2 separate regions of the Homo sapiens genome follow, and region 2 is linked to region 1. Evidence: promoter capture Hi-C in human tissues and cell types (Jung and others, 2019). All regions are on one chromosome and are shown on one strand. The core of a region is centred on a gene start or on the middle of the fragment in contact, and the rest is flanking DNA. Distances in the headings are between cores, read along the strand shown. Region 1 holds the start of POLD2 (DNA polymerase delta 2, accessory subunit). Region 2 overlaps CAMK2B (calcium/calmodulin dependent protein kinase II beta).

Region 1 (2,733 bases), core at 84-2,583:
AGCTGTAGTTGACACCAGACATTGTGTCCACTTGGAAATTTATCGTGCCTGGATACCGATGTCTCACCCTGTAGCGGTCATCCAAAAAGAGAAAAGGAAAGCTAGGAGTGTTTGTCCCATCTGGAGTTCTTCCCGAACCCTAGACTCAGGTGTCCTGTTCCATCTGGACAACTACCAGGGTCTCAATCAAGTTCAGTTTGCCCCAAATGGAATTCCCGATCTGCCTCCATCCAGCTCTCCGGCACCTGTCTCATTTCCAGACAAGAGGTCTGCCTTATTAAATAAAACTTCTGTGAAATAATAAGCCTATTATTAAATAATAATAGAACTAAACCAAAACCAAAACATAAATCAGTCACTGCTCTGTTCAAAACTCTCCAAAGTGTCCTCATTTCATTGAATAAGGCCCCAAGTCCTTACAACTGCCTATGAGATCTGCTCCACTGGTCCTCTCCCCTCCTGGTTCCCACTCCTCCACCTTGGATCCCTCCCCACAGCAAGGGGCCTCTGAACTCTTGCTTGCCCCTCTCCCGTATACTTATAGAGCTCACTTGCCCATCTCCTTCAAGTTCTTACATCTTTACTCAAATGTTACCTTGTGCCCTGCCCATCTGATTTACAACTGCAACTCTCCCCAGTACTTCAACTGTTATTGTTGTTTACAACATTTACCTTCTAACAAACTGTATATTTTAAATGTATTGTCTGCCTGCTCCAACTAGACCATAAGCTCCAGGAGAGCTGAGATTTTTGTGTCTTATGCCACTAGCCACCTAGGGCTACGAAGTACAGGAGATGTGGTGAGTCCAACTGTGATGTTTGGGTTGGACACACAATGGATTTCTAAGAATAGTACAAAGAATATCCCAATAATTTTTTCACATACAATTGAAATAATAGTTTGAATATATTTATGGATTTACTCCAATTGATTTGTTTCGTTTTACTTTTTTCGTACACCTACTAGAAAGTTAAAAAATTCCCTAGCGGCTTGCAATCTATCTCCACGGGACAGCACTGGCCTGGGACACAGGCTCCGCACACGTGTCTAACGAGTGACTCGTTAGGAGCTTTTGGCTCGAACGTGCTTGATGGCGGCAGCAGCCAGGCCGCGCTACTCGGGATGGGGCCGAGAGCGCCCTGGGGGCTGTCCCAGTCACGGCGGGTGCCCCGGCTCGGATCCACGCGGCAGCTGCGGGACGTCCGCCAAGACACCAGCCCACCGACCCAGGAGCCCGGCCTCGCGGCCTGGAACTGCCACCCCCAGCTGACCCCGTTTCCCTGGACCCCACTCACCGCGCGGCGCGCCGCATCCCGCCAATCCCCGCGCGCCTGCCCCGCCCATCGCCGCAACTCGCTAATCCCCGCGCGGCTTCCCCGCCCATCGCCTAATCTCACCAATCGCTGCCCTCCTCGCCCCGTCCGTCACCAGGCGCCTCATCCCGCCGACCACTGTGCGCCCAGTCCCTGGGACGCCCAGAGAACGCGGAGCCACACCCTCGGTTTCCTGGGCAACGCGGGGCGGGGGCTCGCAGGCCGGCGCCGCGGGTCTTTGGTTGGCGGCCGCGCGTGCAGGGGTTGGGCTGACGGGGGGTGTCGGCCTCCAGTGGGCTGACCGCGTCACCCCGTCAGGCCCTGCCCAAACCTCCCAGTGGTCGTCACCCCGCCAGACCTCCCAGTGGTCGGCCGCCAGCCTCCTTGGTGAAGCCCCCAGCGTCCCAGCTTTCCCCGCAGAGCTGCCCACTTGTAGCGATGGCGACACGCGAGGAGGATCCCAACAGAAAGAAGGCCCAAGGCCCACTAACTTGGCCGGGGAGAAGTAACTCTTCCTGAAGGGATGGCGCGGGGTCTCGGGGTTCCTCCCGTCCTGCCAGCGTCTGCGTCCGGGAAACGCATTGGCGGTTTCGGGGTCCTCCCTAGCTTGCCCACAGCTGCACACCAGCTTCCAGCCCAACACTCCCCAATCTCCAGTGTCCTCGTTGTCCCCGTTACTCATACTCGTTCTTACCACCACGTCTTTCTGAGTGCTGTCTCCCACTTTGGGAATACTTTTTTTTTTTTTTTTCCATCTCCACTAATTTATAGAATTCCTCACCCCATCAAGAGACGCTTCCCCACTAAGCTTCCCGGGCTCTTCCCGCCGCGCGCTGATTCTCCCAGGCGTCCTCTAGCGCTACTGTTCTGCTACTTCCCTGGGCCTGTTTCCTAAGTCCAGGTCTTGTCTCCACAACGAGTGGATATTAACACTCGTTAATTATTACTTAATATTTTAATTTTTGTTTTTGTTTGTTTGTTTGAGGCAGCGTCTTGCTCTGTGGCCCAGGCTGGAGTGCAGTGGTGCGATCTCGGCTCACTGCAGCCTCGAACTCCCAGGCTCCAGTGATTCTCCCGCCTCAGCCTCCCGAGTAGCTGGGACAACAGGCGCGCAGCACCACGCCTGGCTACTTTAAGTTTGTGTGTGTGTGTGTGTGTGTGCGTGTGTGTGTAGAGACAGGGTCTCCCAATGGTGCCCAGGCTAGTGTGGAACTCCTGGGCTCAAGTGATCCTCCCACCTCAGCCTCCCAAAGTGCTGGGATTACAGGCATGAGCCACCACGCCCAGCCTTATATTTTAATTTAAAATGTGATATTTTAATTATTAAACGCCTTTGCAACTGCTTTGAGGTTATGACACATTAATTCATCTGCTCCTCAAATAATCCTTTGGGTCAGACACAGTGGTTCACGCCTGTAT
Region 2 (2,746 bases), core at 164-2,663, 180 kb after region 1:
ATCCCCAAGCCCCCCAATCAACCTCTTGCCGCCCTGCACAGGTCCCCTGAGGTGCCCTGCACTGGCTCAAAAACAGTCTCCTGGGGAGATGGACGGGGCACCCCTGTGAGGTGGGGGAGGTGGGAGCAAGAGGAAAATGAATCACAGGACTTGAGCCAAGTAGAGCCCTGAGAGTGGGAAGAAGCAGGGCCGGGAGTTGGCAGCAGGACCAAGACAGGGGCGAGAGGCCTTGGGTGCCGTCTTGGCTCACTCCATCACTCGGTCACGCTGGCTGGGCCAAGGCAGAGGCAGTGGGTGTCAGAGACAGCTCTTCCAGCTAGAGAACAGACTTTCACATTTTCTGGATTCTTGCGAGCCAGCTGATGTCATGTTGTTAGCTTGACATTGGCCACGGTGGGCATCTTCATACCACAGAAATGGGCAAACACCACCCACCAGGGACCCCACCCCTCTGTTAAACATTGACCAGGCACCACTTGAGAGGGGACTGCAAGGGGGGATGATGTGGCCTCCCTCTACATACCCCAAATACCCAGAGGGAGGGGGGTTGAGGGTCAGGAGGGAGGAGAACCTGACAGGCCAGAAACCACCTAGGGGCTGAAATTACATGCTCCCCATGGGAGTGAGAGAGGAGAGGGGGTGAGCACTCTTCCTGAGGAGAGGGCTCACAGGGGAGCCAGTCTGACTGGGGGTTCTGAAAGCCACGGTGGGCTGGGCTGGGATCCCCGTAAATCCAGCCTGTCCTGTGCAGCCTCGGTGGGAAGTTCCCCCTTCCAGGGAGGGTCTGGGACTTCTGCTCATTCTGTATCAGCATCCATCTTTCTCTTTCACTTCTCCGTTCTCTCAGGTGAACCATATCCTCCAGAAATCTTCAGCAACAAATGTCTTCCTTTAGCAACCCCACAGGAGCTGTGCCCCAGAACAATGGCCATGACCCCAGTGGGGAGGTCTGCATTAAGCAAAGAGCAAAATAAATACAGAGATGAAGACAGGAGGGAGGACCACCCAGGAACACCTGTAGCCCACTGTGCCCATGCTCTTCCAACAGACTAGGGGAGGCCTGCAGGTCAGGCCTAGCCTCTAGGGTGGAGAGGTCCAGCCTGTCTCTTAGCCCTGGACCCAGCCTTGAAGCATGTGGTGGATTATGCAGATAATGCACAGGGGTTGCTGGAGAACTGTCACTCAATCTGGCCATGCTGAAACCAGTGAGCAGGAGGAGGGTGTGGGCAGGAGGAGGAGGGTGTGGGCAGGGGGAGGAGGATGCGAGCAGGGGAGGAGGGTGTGGGCAGGGGAGGAGGGTAAGGGCAGGGGTAGGAGAGTGTGAGTAGAATGAGGAGGGTGTGAGCAGGGGAAGGAAGGTGTGAGCAGGAGGAGGAGGGTGTGAGCAGGAAGACGGTGTGAGCAGGGGGAAGAGGGTGTGAGCAGGAAGAGAAGGGGGTGAGTAGGGGGAGGAGGATGTGAGAAAGGGGAGGAGGGTGTGAGCAGGAGGAGGAGGGTGTGAGCAGGAAGAAGAGGGTGTGAGCAGGGAGAGGAGGCGGTGAGCAGGGGGAGGAGGGTCTGAGCAGGGGGAGGAGGGTCTGAGCAGGGGATGGAGGGTGTGAGCAGGAGGAGGGTGTGAGCAGGGGGAGGAGGGTGTGAGCAGAGGGAGGAGGGTGTGAGCAGAGGGAGGAGGGTGTGAGCAGAGAGAGGAGGGTGTGAACAGGAGGAGGGTATGAGCAAGGGGAGGAGGGTGTGAGCAGAGGGAAGAGGGTGTGAGCAAGGGGAGGAGGGTGTGAGCAGAGGGAAGAGGGTGTGAGCAGGCGGAGGAGGGTGTGAGAAGGGGGAGGAAGTTGTCAGCAGGGGGAGGAAGTTGTCAGCAGGGGGAGGAGGGTGTGAGCAGGGAGAAGAGGGGGTAAGCAGAAGGAGGAGGGTGTGATCAGGGGGAGGAGGGTGTGAGCAGGGGAGGGTGTGTGAAGAGGAGGGTTTCAGGAGGCTCAGCCTGGGGCCTCCTGTGTCATTGGCGCCATCTGGCCCCTGGCACTGGGAATGGTCTGCCAGGGCTCACTGCATCTTTGGAATTCCTCCCCTGCCCACATGGAGAGGCTGTCACGCACATCAGGGGCCAACCTACTCCCTGGGACAAGGCTACGGTGCCTGTGTCCTAGGGCCTTGGTCCTGGCCTCATGAGATGCGCTTAGCCAGAGTCTGGTGGAGGTGGCCCATTAGCCTAGGGCCACCTGGAAGGAGCCTGTGGGAACTCTGAGGGGAACGCTGAGAGCTGACCCTTGTTGAATTTGTTTTCCTGTTTTTACCCACTGAAAGCTTTCATTTATTTTTCTGTGAGCTGTTGCTGCTGTCATCCGTACTTCAACTGGGGTTTTGGCCATTTTTTTTTAACTGGGGGGCCTCATTCTGTCACCCAGGCTGGAGTGCAGTGGTGTGACTGCAGCTCACTGCAGCCTTGATCTCCTAGCCTAAGTGATCCTCCCACCTGGGCCTCCCAAAGCGCTGGGATTCCAGGCCTTTTTGACCTATAGGAGCTCTTTCCATATGAGGGAAACCACCCATTCACCTCATGTAGCCCAAATGCTGGGAGGGCCTGCTGTGGCCTCACCCACACGGGATGTGCCCAGGAGGCATGGGGCAGGCACGTTCTTGTTCTGTTCCCTAACAGGAATGTGAACACTTTAAGCACAAGGCACGTCTCTTCTCCTCTTTGCCCCTAAAATCCAGATGTGCAGATGGCTAATTGCCGGAGCTGCCATCC

What was found. The method cuts DNA at HindIII sites, captures the fragments that hold promoters and counts their contacts. A contact is called where the count stands out against the background at its distance.
Region 2: a contact is called between a fragment that was not itself captured here and the fragment with the promoter of POLD2 in region 1, in 1 of the 25 tissues and cell types used here (H1 embryonic stem cells).

Annotation. Positions count from the first base shown.
Region 1 is chr7:44,122,215-44,124,947 of GRCh38, forward strand. POLD2 (DNA polymerase delta 2, accessory subunit) reads right to left here and starts at 1,334. Exons shown (of 11, transcript NM_006230.4): 1 at 1,297-1,334. RefSeq lists a silencer at 1,020-1,729 and enhancers at 1,516-2,420, 1,940-1,999. The HindIII fragment of the contact is 6,473 bases long and covers 1-2,665 here.
Region 2 is chr7:44,305,509-44,308,254 of GRCh38, forward strand. All of the region lies in intron 1 of CAMK2B (calcium/calmodulin dependent protein kinase II beta), which reads right to left. Among named protein-coding and RNA genes, the nearest start is that of CAMK2B, 19 kb to the right of the region's middle. RefSeq lists an enhancer at 733-782. The HindIII fragment of the contact is 4,208 bases long and covers 1-2,746 here.